Linked DNA regions of Homo sapiens: all the other regions are linked to region 1. Evidence: promoter capture Hi-C in human tissues and cell types (Jung and others, 2019). All regions are on one chromosome and are shown on one strand. Each heading gives the region's core, a stretch centred on a gene start or on the middle of the fragment in contact. The rest is flanking DNA. Distances are from core to core; before and after follow the strand shown.

Region 1 (4,252 bases), core at 681-3,180:
GGCTTCTTGGGATGCTCAGAGCCCTAGGAGTGAGCACCAATGAGCCACTCTTTTGCAGTTTTCCTCCATTTTCAGAAGGCAGGCATCCCATAATTTCTCTGGCAGATTATTTGCCTTTCCAAGTGCTCTCCTAATCCAACATTTCCATCTGGCACACAGTGTCATTCTTGCTCCTGAATTCCTGATTCCAGAGCATTTCTGCCATTTTCTTCCTTTGCACAGTGTGTACCTTCCCTCTTCTCCTCTTCTTCCAAATGTCCATATTTTTGTGGTGGAAAAAGTGGGGACAGGGGAGACAGAAGACTGGAATCCTTATCAAGTCCTCTCTCAGCCCTTGGTGGCTCTGGTTCCTTCTCTGTGAAAGGGTGACGTGTGGGGAAGGGGTTGGGGATGAGGTAGGAGAGGGGGTCTGAGTTCCTTCCCACGTCTAACGATGGCTGGAACCAGGCCTCTGTGTTCAACCAAGGGTACTTTCTGTTTCTGTCCATTTGGGGAAGTTGCTTTTTCTTGGTATTTCGGGAGTCAGGAAAAGAAAAGTCATTGGTGTTCATATCTCTCAAAGCCTCAGGTAGGGCTGCGGCTTTTGACCAACAATAACGTATGACCATGACCTTGTGGCCGAGTTTGCACGCCTCTAACAGATATTATGACACAGTTCCATTCAATAGTGGAAGTGGAGATTTCAGCGTTGCCCTTTGTTAACCCACAAATGAAGTGCTACTCTTCCATTGTGAGGGCTGTCGGAGCAGTAGCCAACCTTCTTATCCCCATTTTTTAAACGAGGGAAAGGAGGCATAGGAAGCGCAGTGTCTTGTGGGATTCCCTGGGGAGTCCTTCCAACTCTTGGTAGAGCATCATCTGCAACGTCGTCTGGGGGAGAAAAGGGGGAGGCAAGAAGAGGGCCTTGACCCTGGAGGCAGGAACTCCCGCACACCCTCACTCCCTTCCCCAGGGGCTGGGGAAACCACTCAGGTGACAGTAGCCTTGGTGCCGGCCAGGGAGGGCGGGAAGTCCAGCCAGAGGCTGGAACAGCAGTGCTGAACGCCGGGACTGGCTGGTATTTCTATGAAGGTTCCTGCAGAAGGATGCGGGTCAAGGTGCCCGTCTGCACAGCAGTAGTGCAGGCATTTTAAGGGTTAAGGGCACCCAAAGAAAATAGAAGTAGGGGCCGGGCGCAGTGGCTCACGCCTGTAATCCCAGCACTTTGGGAAGCCGAGGCGGGCGGATCACGAGGTCAAGAGATCGAGACCATCCTGGCCAACATGGTGAAACCCCGTCTCTAGTAAAAATACAAAAAATTGGGCGTGGTGGCGCGCGCCTGTAGTCCCAGCTACCCGGGAGGCTGAGGCAGGAGAATCGCTTGAACCCGGGAGGCGGAGGTTGTGGGGAGTCAAGATCGTGCCACTGCACTCCAGCCTGGCGACAGAGCGAGACTCCATCTCAAAAAAAAAAAAAAAAAAAAGAAAGAAAATAGAAGTAGGAAGAGGAAGTGGGTCGCAGTGAGAGAAGGAAGCAGCTCGTCGGAGCTTCCTCTTTCTCGTCTTTCCCCTAAGCCCCTACCCCAGACCTGCCCCCCTGCTCCGCCCAGCCCTCCTGCGGGGCCAAAGCCGCGCTTCCGACGCGGGGGCCTAACCTCCCCTTACTCCTTGGGGGTCGCTGGTGCTCCGCGCTGGTGCCCCTCGGGCCACTGCCATGGACCGGCCAGGGTCTGCTTCTTCCGAGGGCTGGCGGGTCAGAGCCGGGGCTGCTTCTCAGACGCCTTGCGGCCTCGGGGGCGTGACCCAGAGGATGTGGGGCCGGGCGCGCACCTGGCTGACGCTGCCGGGCCGCCAGGTGGCTGGAGAGGCCGGCTCCGCGGTCAGCCCCGCCCCATTAGGCCCCGCCCCCTGACAGGCTCCGCCCCGCCCGCCGGAGGAGCCCAGGCTGGGCAGATGCTGCGGCTCGCCGCGCGGCTCCAGCTGGGGCGCGGTGGTCCCGACGGTCACCCGAATCGCAGGGAGTCGCCGCTGGAGAGGGGCTCGGCGCCCGGCGGGGACTGCAGGTGTGTGACTGGGCGGCCAGGGCGGATGCGGAGGGCACGCATGGGAGCTCCAGGCAGAGCTGGAGCAAGCTGGGGACCGTCGGGGAGAGTGGGCTCCGCGAGCAGCCGCCGCAGCCCGAGGGCTGGACAGATCCTGCTATCTTCCGGCCCCGTGGACCTGGCCCACCGCGGGGGCAGCGGGTCTGCAAACCTGCGCTCCAGATAACCCCAGAGACTTAAGGGGCGTCGCGGGGACCACTTATCGTTATCCGGGTAACCTCTGCTGGGCGGCTCTGCGCAGCTGTGTCCTCAGCCTCCTGCCTCTGACACAGGACGCCCTGTGTCGTAGGGTCAGGTCCCCTGCCCGCTCCAGCGGGGAACTGTCCGTGAGCGTGGGCATCAGGGCTCTTGTGCCGTCAGAACCTGGGAGTCATGGAAGTGCCCGCGTAAGGCGCCCTCCGTCGAGCCTCACTCAGCCTGCTAGTTAGCCAGCCTTGGGCCCAGACGCGGCTGCTGTCCTAGAGAACTGCACGCTTTCTGCTCTCAGAGGATCTGTGTTTACACACTGGACATCCCCGCGTGACTCGTGTGTGTGTGTGTGTGTGTGTGTGTGTGGGCATGCGCATGTGCGCGTGCTGGCCCATCCCGGCCTGGGGTAAATACACAAAAAGTTCAGGTCAGTAGGAGGAAGGAGATTGTTCAGAAGGAAAAGGAAGGCGAGGTTAAAGCAGCAGGATGTGGTATAAAGCGAGTTAACAAGACTCGGAGTAGAGAGGAGGGGTGGGTTTAGGCAGAATAAGGGCTAAAAGTAGGCCAAGCCTGCCTCCAAGGTCCTCTCTGGACTGACACCCTCGTTTTCCTTCTGTGTCTTCTCATCCACCCCACACTTTCCTTCCTGCCCTCAGGACCACCTGTAAGGCACTGGCTCCCAGAGCTGACTGCAGGTAGGGCTCTCTTGGAGCCAACCCTACAACGTGGCTTTCCAGGGATGGGATCTGGAATCTGTAGTTTTCAAAACTTTGAATGAGCTCCTTAAGTGATGATGCTGAAGCCGTTGCTTGGGAACCATGCATGATGTGGAAAAGAGACCCAAGTTCCAACCGGATCCAGCTGTGTGACCTGCAGCATCACACTGTCCCCCAACCCAGCCTCAGTCTCCTGATTCATAAAATGGGCTGTCATACTGACCCATAGAGCTGTGTGGAATTATTATTATTATTATTATTGAGACAGGGTCTTGCTCTGTCACTCAGGCTGGAGTGCAGTGGCGTGATCATGGCTCACTGCAGCCTTAAATTCCCAGGCTCAAGCAATCCTCCGCCTCCGCCTCCCAAGTAGCTGGGATTACAGGTCAGCACCACGGCGCCCAGCTAATTTTTGTATTTTTTGTAGAGGCAGGGTTTTGCCATGTTGCCCAGGTTGGTCCCAAATTCCTTGAGCTCAAGCGATCCGTCTACCTTGGCCTTCCAAAGTGCTGGGATTATAGACATGAGCCACTGTGCCTGGCCCAGTGTGGAAAATTAAGTGAGGCATGTATGATGAGAACGGCTGCACGTGGGAGATGCTCCGTGGATGTTTGTAGAACGCTGGCTTCCGTGTTTCCTCGTTGTGGCTGTGGTGGTGTGGGTCTTTGCCTGTGGACCCGTGGAAGACAAAGAAGACAGTTTTGGATGGTCAAGCTACTTTCTTGCTTCAGGGCTCCCTCCCCTGCTTTTTGAAGCCTCACAAACCAGGACTGTGAGGGCAGGAAGGCTTGGGGTCTTTGTGTGCTGAGCCTCATTAGGGTTTTAAGAACCTCCCTCCTTTCATCTCTAGCTTACGAGAGGGATGATTCATTATCTTCCCTCCTCAGGCTGCAGTAGAAGCAGACAGTCTCTGCCTCCCTGCTTGCCTTTCCTCCCTCCCATTCACTGTTGATTATTGCCCTCAAGAATAACAGGTTGCCCAGCTACTCGAGAAGCTTAAGTGGGAGGATTGCTTGACCCCAGGAGTTCGAGGCTGCAGTGAGCTATGATCGCTTCACTGCGCTATAGCCTGGCAGACACAGAGAGACCCTATCTCAAGCAAACAGACAAACAAAAAAAAAAAAAGAAGAAGAAGAAGAAGAATAGGTTGGATGCTAACTGGTGGCACTGGGTGACAAGAGCATTTGGGGTTGATGTTGGCATGAGGATGAGAAGGCAGGGGTGCAGGCTGCTCCATACCCCTGTGTTAGCCATCCATCAGGGGCCT
Region 2 (4,252 bases), core at 1,753-4,252, 620 kb before region 1:
GCTAAAAGAGTTGATCTTAAGTGTTTTCATCACACACAAAAAGTAACTATGTGAAGTGAATATGTTAATTAGTTTGATCGTAGACATCATTTCACAATGTATATGTCTATCAACACATTGTGTTATACACTTTAAATTGATACAACCTTAATATGTCAAGTATGCCTCAATATAACCAGGAAAATAATTTTTTTAACTTTCGGTTTCAGTTCTGAGTGCCCACCAGGTGCTCTGAAGAGCCTGGGACCTTTCATGGTGACACCTCTTTCCACAGGCAACTCCCGTACTCCAAATATCTGCCAAGGTAACACTACTGCTTCCATGTTAGAGAAAAGTTTGTATGCTTGAATGTAATTATTGTTTTGCTTGAGTTGGTAGTTTATTCACTAAAAACAGTTTCAGGAGAACAGGACCTTCAGCAAAAATAAAAGAAAATACAATGACCAACAACTCTGGGAATGGGCTGACCAGCCTGGTAAGAACAGGGCAGATGGCATCTGCAGAAGGCCCCAACATATTGACTAACTGCCTACCTGAGACTGCACATGTTTCACAAAAATGCTTTGATCATTATTCCTCTAATTTCCCTGATTCAGAGACTCAACTCGGTGAGGTGGTCTTTGAACGCTAGTTTATTGTCTCCCCTGGGTTGCTGGCTTCTCCAATAAAGCTAACCTTCCTTTCACCAAAGCTCATCTCTTGAGTTTTTAGCTTTCAAGTGACAAGTGGCCCAAACTTGATTTTGGTTATACCAAGAACCATCTCAACAATTATAAACCCTTGTAATATGTTTTAATATGAAACAGACCCAGGTCCTCCATTATTGCTCACCTATGGTCAGAATTTTTTTGATTGCTCTTCGTGTTTATTTTACAATACAAACTTGCATGTCACCTTGGCTATTTAAAATTCATGATTGTGTTTTTAGTGAGATAGTATTAAATGTATAGATTAACTTAAGGGAAAATGATTTTTATAATAATATAAAATACCTCTATTTTAAAAACAGGATATGTTTCTTCATAAGTCTCCTTTTATGCCTTCTAGTAGCATTTTCCATTTTTTTCATAAAGATCTCACTCATTTCTTATTACATTTATTCTTGGGTTTTTAAAAAACTTTTTTGTTGCTATCTCCTTCTCCATCGAAAGACTCATAAATATTTATTAATATAATCTTCTTGTTCTTAAATGAATGCTTCTTTTATATTTAACTCCCTCTGGAATTTATTTTGGTGCTTTATGTGATTCCTGTAGCTAAATGGATTATTTTTGCTCAAATGGCCAAATGTAATTATTGAATAAATGATTTTTTTTCATTTTAATTGAGTGTTCCTTTTTTATGCAGTATGTTCTTATAATACCAAGGTTTATGTCTTTAGGGTGATCTATTCCTACTAAAAATTTTTTATAGTTTTCTAATTGCAGGTTCTTTATAAACAATCATATGGCTATCCATATGGAAAAATTAAACTTAGATTCATAATTCACACCTTACACAAACAATATCTTCCAGGTAGATCAAAGACCTAAATGTGAAAAACAAGACAGTGTGTACAAAAGTAAGAAATGACTTTCCAACTATGACACAAAAAGAGCAAATCATAAAAGAAAAGGCTGAAATATTTACCCAGTTATGTGAAAAATGAAAAACATCTAGGCTGGGCTGGGTGGCTCATGCCTGTAATCCCAGCACTTTGGGAGGCCGAGGCAGGCAGATCACTCGAGGCTGGGAGTTTGAGACCAGCCTAGCCAATATGGCGAAACCCTGTCTCTACTAAAAATACAAAAATTAGCTGGGCGTAGTGGTGGACACCTATAATCCCAGCTACTTGAGAGGCTGAGGCAGGAGAATCGCTTAAACCTGGGAGGTGGATGTTGCAGTGAGCTGAGATTGTGCCACTGCACTCCAGCCTGGGTGACAGAGTGAGACTCTTTCTCAAAAAATCAAAAAATTTAATTACTAAAGACATTGTTATTGGAAGGATGAAGAGAAAAACACAAACAAGAAGATATTTTCAATGTATACAATAGACAAAGGATCATCTCCATAATATACGAAGAACTCCTACAAGGCAATAAGGAAAACATATGCTTCTCAATAGAAAAATGAGCAAAGGATATGGATAGCCAGTTTATGCTGAAGGAAATTCAAAACCCAATAAACCTACAAAAAGAGATGCAACCTCATAAGTAACCAGGAAAATGTAAATTATGTCCGAAATGAGATACCATGTCATATCCACCAAAATGGCTAAAATTAAGATGGCTGACAGTACCAGGCATCTGTGTTGATGTGGAACAAAGCCAACACTCATAAAATGCTTGGTGGGAGAGTAAATCGGTCTAATCGTTTTGGAAAACAATGTGTCTTTATTGATGATGCTTGAATGCGCACATGCCCCAGGACCCAGCTACTCTATTCTTAGGTGTGCAACCTGCCCAGAGATAACCTTGTAACATGCAGGTGTGTATTTCTTCAGATTTATTTTTGTTTTTGCATTTAAAAATTATGGTTCTTGGTTGCAAACTAGAAGAGTCAACTCTGGCTAAATGTAGCAGAAAAAGAATTATATGGAAGGAATACATATTGCTCACACAACTGGCAGGAAGTTTGGGTCACACTTGAAAAATGGGCAGAACTAATAGCAAGGCGAGACCAAGTGACACGAACTAAAGACCTCTCATGGCCACACTGCTCAACGCTCAATGCTCCTTTGCATCACTCCTATAAGAGTGGAACTGCGGAGTGGGAATGTCTGATTGGCTGAGCCAATTATGTTACATCTCTCAATTGGCTGCCAAGGAATTAGGAGAGAAAATATGTGCCTCTTTTAGGCTCTCACTAAAGCAATAGAACCAGCTCCTACCTATCTTGGGATACTTCTCAAATAGAATAGTATTCAGATATGAGTAACCAAAACTACGCATGTCCACTACAATTCATATTCTTTGCTCTCTTCTCCAGACATACTCACACACACTCCATTTTCTCTCTCTCTCGCCTTCTTTCCCTCCCTCTCTGTCTCCCTCTGTCCCTCCCTCCCTCTCCTCTCTCTCTATCCCCTCTCTCTCTCTCAAACATATGTACACTTTAAACTGTAATAGGCTCATATCATATACACTGTATGGCAAATTGCATTTTATACTTAATATATCTTTGACATCTTTCCTCATTAGTTTATATACATCTATTCCATTTTTCTTAAGGATTGTACAGTATCAAATTGCACAAAAGGAATATAATTTTAAAAATTATTGGAGTGAAATTCACATAACATAAAATTAACTGTTTTAACGTGAACAATTCAGTGGCATTTAGTGCATTCACAATGCTGTGCAACCAGCACTTCCGGGTTCACGCCATTCTCCTGCCTCAGCCTCCCGAGTAGCTGGGACTACAGGTGCCCGCCACCGCGCCCGGCTAATTTTTTGGTATTTTTAGTAGAGACGGGGTTTCACCGTGTTAGCCAGGATGGTTTCCATCTCCTGACCTCGTGATCCACCCGCCTGGGCCTTCCAAAGTGCTGGGATTACAGGCGTGAGCCACCACGCCTGGCCACGTAGTTTTTTAAAACTTCTTACCAATGGATATTTGGGTTGTTTCTTCCAATGTTTCAGCTATTATAGACAATATCACAGTGAACTTCATTGCACGTAAATTTTTTGAAAACTTGAATAAGTGATTCAAGTTCTTAAAAGCTCAAAGATTATCTTCATTAAGAATTGTAATAGATACTATAAAACTGGCCTTCAACAAGGTTGTAAAATTAATACCGGCAGTAGTAATTGAGAACCATTTCTTATTCTCACCTTATTATATTACCCTTTTTTTTTCTTTTTTTGCCTTTGCCAGTTTGAGAAGCAAAAACCATCACTGCTTTAACAGCATTTTTTTTTTTTTTTTGAGACCAGGTCTCACTCTGTTGCCCAGGCAGGAGTGCAGTGGTACAGTGATGGCTCACTGCAGCCTCTACCTCCCGGGCTCAGGTGATCCTCCCACCTCAGCCTCTCGAATAGCTGGGACTACAGGCATGCATCGCCATGCCTGGCTATTTTTTGGTATTTTTTATAGAGATAGGGTTTCACCATGTTGCCCAGGCTGGTCTCAAACTCCTGGCCTCAAGGAATCTTCCTGCCTCAACCTCCCAAAGTGCTGGGATTACAGGTGTGAGCCACCGCACATGAACTTTAATAGCATTTTTAAGCTTTTTGAGCTAATAGCCATTTATATTTATTTACCTATTTACAGG
Region 3 (4,252 bases), core at 1,204-3,703, 590 kb before region 1:
GCACAGTTAACTATGTGCCAGGCACTGTGCTAGATATTTTTTAGATTTTGTTGGTATTGTTAATGAAGTTTTAAAATAACAATTTAAAAAACTCTCCCTAGGTATTACTTAAATTTAGGAATGCCCTTGATTTTTTTTCACTTTATGACTAATGACCATATTGAATTCTTCTACCGTTTTTTTTTTTTTTTTTTGAGATGGAGTCTTGCTCTGTCGCCCAGGCTGGAATACAGTGGCATCATCTTTGCTCACTGCAACCTCCGCTTCCTGGGTTCAAGCCATTCTCCTGCCTCAGCCTCCCCAGTAACTGAGATTACAGGTGCGCACCACCATGCCCAGCTAATTTTTGTATTTTTAGTAGTGACAGGGTTTCACCATGTTGGCCAGGCTGGTTTTGAACTCCTGACCTCGTGATTCTCCCACCTCTGCCTCCCAAAGTGCTGTGATTACAGGTGTGAGCCACCACACCTGGCCTCTACTGTTTTTAATAGTCTTTCAGCCCGGCCTCTACTGTTTTTAATAATCTTTCAGTCTGGGCGCGGTGGCTCATGCCTGTAATCCCAGCATTTTGGGAGGCTGAGGTGGGTGGATCACCTGAGGTCAGGAGTTCGAGACCAGCCTGACCAATATGGTGAAACTCTGTCTCTACTAAAAATACAAAAATTAGCTGGGCATGGTGGTGGGTGCCTGTAGTCCCAGCTACTCAGGAGGCTGAGGCAGGAGACTCGCTTAAAACGGGAGGCGGAGGTTGTAGTGAGCTGAGATCACTCCATTGCACTCCAGCCTGGGCAACAGAGCAAGACTCTGTCTCAAAAAAAAAAAAAAAAAAAATATATATATATATATATATATATATAAAATAATAATAATCTTTCAGTTGATTCTCTTAACTCTTCCAAGTAGACTATTATCAATCTGCAAATAATAATAATCTCATCTTTCCTTGTAGTCCTTGTATTTTTCTTTAATTTTTCTTATTGTATTGGTTAGAACTTCTAGAGCAAAGTTAAATAATATTGTAGTTAAGGCAGTAGTGTTCTATTCTTAGTTTTTCTTTCTTTTTTGTGTTTCTTTTGTTTATAATTTCCCCTGTACTGTACTAATCATATGTTTATTCTGTTTTTAATTATTAACACCATGAGCTTTATTACTAGATTTTTCTAACATCAAACTGTTCTTAAATTACTAGAATAATTTCTACTTGTTGATAGTATATGGTCCTTTTTAATGTAATTCTGAATTTGCTTTGCTAATATTTTTTGAAAAGATTTTTACATTTATAATTCCTAAGTAAGATTGACATGTGGTTATCTCTGTCAGTGCTTGTTACCCAGGTTATGGTAGCTTAAAATGTGAATTAGGCTTTCCATCTTTTTTTGTGCTCTAGAAAGTGTCTTTAATTATGATAATGACATTTTTTCCTGATTACAAAAGTGATCATTTTCTTATAAAATATTAGAAAATCCCACTACTTAGATAGAACCATGGTGCTTTCATGGTTTCAATGTTTGTATTTAGTTCCTGGGTTGTTTTTTCTCTGTTTGGGTGATATTTTATTTTATGACTTGATGTTTTTTTCATAAGCTGTGATGGATATCTTTCTATGTGAACAAATAGAGATTTGAGCCATAATTTTTAATGGCTACATACTCCGTCTTTCATCTCCCAAATGCTTTTGTCTTTGATTTTGTGGACTCCTCTTCGTAGGCCTGGTGTGTGTGGCGCCTTTTTGTTTGCTTGTTTTGCCCTTTTATCTTTTTTTTTTTTTTGAGACGGAGTCTCGCTCTGTCGCCCAGGCTGGAGTGCAGTGGCGCGATCTCGGCTCACTGCAAGCTCCGCCTCCAGGGTTCACGCCGTTCTCCTGCCTCAGCCTCCCGCGTAGCTGGGACTACAGGCGCCCGCCACCGCGCCCAGCTAATTTTTTGTATTTTTAGTAGAGACGGGGTTTCACCGTCGTCTGGATCTCCTGACCTTGTGATCCACCCTCCTCGGCCTCCCAAAGTGCTGGGATTACAGGCGTGAGCCACCGCGCCCGGCCGCTCTTTTCTCTTTGAGTGTAGAGAGATCTGCTTTCCTTGGTGTTTCCCCACAACATTGTAGGTGATTGTTCCTTGGTTCCCAGGGGTATGGGGATAGTTCAGGTTAGACTTTTCTTGGCTGCTGGTGCCTTGGAGGGCTGCTGGATGTGTGCAGTCTGGGCCAGTCTCTGACACACTGGCTGGTTTTCCTTGGTGTGATTCTGCAAATCCAAGGAGGGAGTCCGCTTGAGTTATATAATTGCTGCTTTTGACAAGGTAGCAAAGGAAACCTGTGGTATTCTGTGTTTTTAACATATGTCTGATTTCATCCGTGGTTGAATATGTTTTAACTTACACAGGCAGTTTTTTCACATTTCCAAATTCCTGAGAGACTCTCTTCTCGCCCTCTTCTCCATCCTTTAATGTAACAGGTTAGAGTCACGGACAAAAATTTCCTGTAGGATGATTGGAGAAAATGCGCACCCTCCTGGGAAAAGAGTCATGTGTGGTTAGCATTCCTCTTGCATAAAAAGAACACATTGCCGTAAAACGTTTCATTGGGTTATAAATTTTACCAGTTGTTCAGAGAGCCTGGTGGGGATGGTAATGGGACTCCATGCTTTGTCGTTTGAAGCCTGGTTCAGAGAACTGTGGGTTTTTGCTCTCAAATGAAGACTCGGGGAACACAATTTCCTGCGTGGTTCCAAGGTAGATACATAGGATCAATGGGGTAGAAGCTCAGGTGACAGGATTCAGCTGATGGTGAGAGCACACTGACAGTTTCTAGTCAGTATCGGGGTTCCAGTCTGGCTTGGCTCACCACTTGGCCAGGTTGTGGAGCGGGTACAAGCTGTAGGTTGGCAGCTGGGCCAGGGCACCACTGAGCCTCCTTCCAGCCCTGAGTTTGTCGTGAGGGGCTGAGTATCTATCTCTTCCAGCCCTTGCTTGGTTGCATCATAGCCCGTGAAGTAGTGTTTACGTGATGTAATTTTGTGGATTCTACATTCTGGACTAGAATACTTAGGATGTGTTCTTTTCTTTTCAGCTTACCGTGACAATCAGAGCTTTGTTGCAGAACCTGAAGGAAAAGATCGCCCTTTTGAAGGACTTATTGCTAAGAGCTGTGTCAACACATCAGATGTATCCATGTAAACATTTCCACCTCTTTTCTAGAGTGGGAGGAAAAGCAGTCGTATTTTAAGAAAGGAAGGAATCTGGGCCACCCAGATTTTCCCACAGCTTGAGGAAGACCTGGTTTCCAAAATATTGCCTGTAATCTTGATTTCTATTTTAAGTGTCTGTTACATGTTTTACAGTGAATATGCTGGCAAAGCAAGACCTACCGAGGGAATTAACTTATTTGGGTATAACCTGTACAGTTCAGGAAGCTAATGTTTTCCGTCAGTGCGGTATTTACGGAGCCCCACACTGCTCTCTGTCTAGACCGCCTTGACCATGGCTAGCTACTGCTCCAACAGGAAAACTTCCATGATCATCCTAAGCTGTGATTCCGCTTCTGGGAGTTTCCAGAGTTTTTAATGATCCATTTATTTTCGGAGTGGGCAATACCAGTAGAAACCATACATCTCTCCTCTCACCACCTGCCCCGTGTTTATGTAGATTTGAGATGTGCCTTATTTTTCCTCCAGAGGCACAGACACTGCCTCTAGTATGGGAGTGTGAGGGGAAGGGGTGGGATGGGACTTCTTGAAGCAAGTTATGCCATCATCTTAACCTCCTACCAAGTGTTAAAATATATATATATATATATGTATGTGTATATATATATATATATATATATATATATATATATATATATATATTTTAGAAATTCATAATCTGGGCCAGGTGCAATGGTTCACGCCTATAATCCCAGCACTTTGGGAGGCCAAGCACTTGAGGCCAGGAGTTCGAGACCAGCCTGGTCAACATGGTGAAACCCCATCTCTACTGAAAATATAAAAATTAGCTGGGCGTGGTGGTGCACGCCTGTACTCCCAGCTACTCAGGAGGTTGAGGCAGGAGAATCACTTGAACCTGGGAGGCGGAGGTTGCAGTGAGCCGAGATCGTGCCAAAGCACTCCAGCTTGGGCAACAGAGTGTGACCCTGTCTCAAATAATAAAAAAAGAGAAATTCATAATCTGATCAATTTAGGAAAATATACGTGACTTGTTACCTACACTAACTTTTTACACCCAAGTGTATATTGGTTTGAAAACTTACCTGAAACTGG

What was found. The method cuts DNA at HindIII sites, captures the fragments that hold promoters and counts their contacts. A contact is called where the count stands out against the background at its distance.
Region 2: a contact is called between a fragment that was not itself captured here and the fragment with the promoter of PIK3R5 in region 1, in 1 of the 25 tissues and cell types used here (IMR-90 fibroblasts).
Region 3: a contact is called between a fragment that was not itself captured here and the fragment with the promoter of PIK3R5 in region 1, in 2 of the 25 tissues and cell types used here (heart left ventricle and mesendoderm cells).

What each region holds. Positions count from the first base shown.
Region 1 is chr17:8,963,385-8,967,636 of GRCh38, reverse strand. It overlaps PIK3R5 (phosphoinositide-3-kinase regulatory subunit 5), which reads left to right and starts at 1,930. Exons shown (of 19, transcript NM_001142633.3): 1 at 1,930-2,041. PIK3R5-DT (PIK3R5 divergent transcript) reads right to left here and starts at 1,790. Exons shown (of 3, transcript NR_184080.1): 1 at 1,634-1,790; 2 at 1-870. RefSeq lists silencers at 1,517-1,616, 1,687-2,006. The HindIII fragment of the contact is 11,271 bases long and covers 1-4,252 here.
Region 2 is chr17:9,580,343-9,584,594 of GRCh38, reverse strand. The region is part of intron 1 of CFAP52 (cilia and flagella associated protein 52); the gene reads right to left. Among named protein-coding and RNA genes, the nearest start is that of CFAP52, 5.8 kb to the right of the region's middle. The HindIII fragment of the contact is 5,237 bases long and covers 384-4,252 here.
Region 3 is chr17:9,556,340-9,560,591 of GRCh38, reverse strand. STX8 (syntaxin 8) reads left to right here. Exons shown (of 8, transcript NM_004853.3): 3 at 3,064-3,158. Among named protein-coding and RNA genes, the nearest start is that of STX8, 17 kb to the left of the region's middle. The HindIII fragment of the contact is 6,164 bases long and covers 1-4,252 here.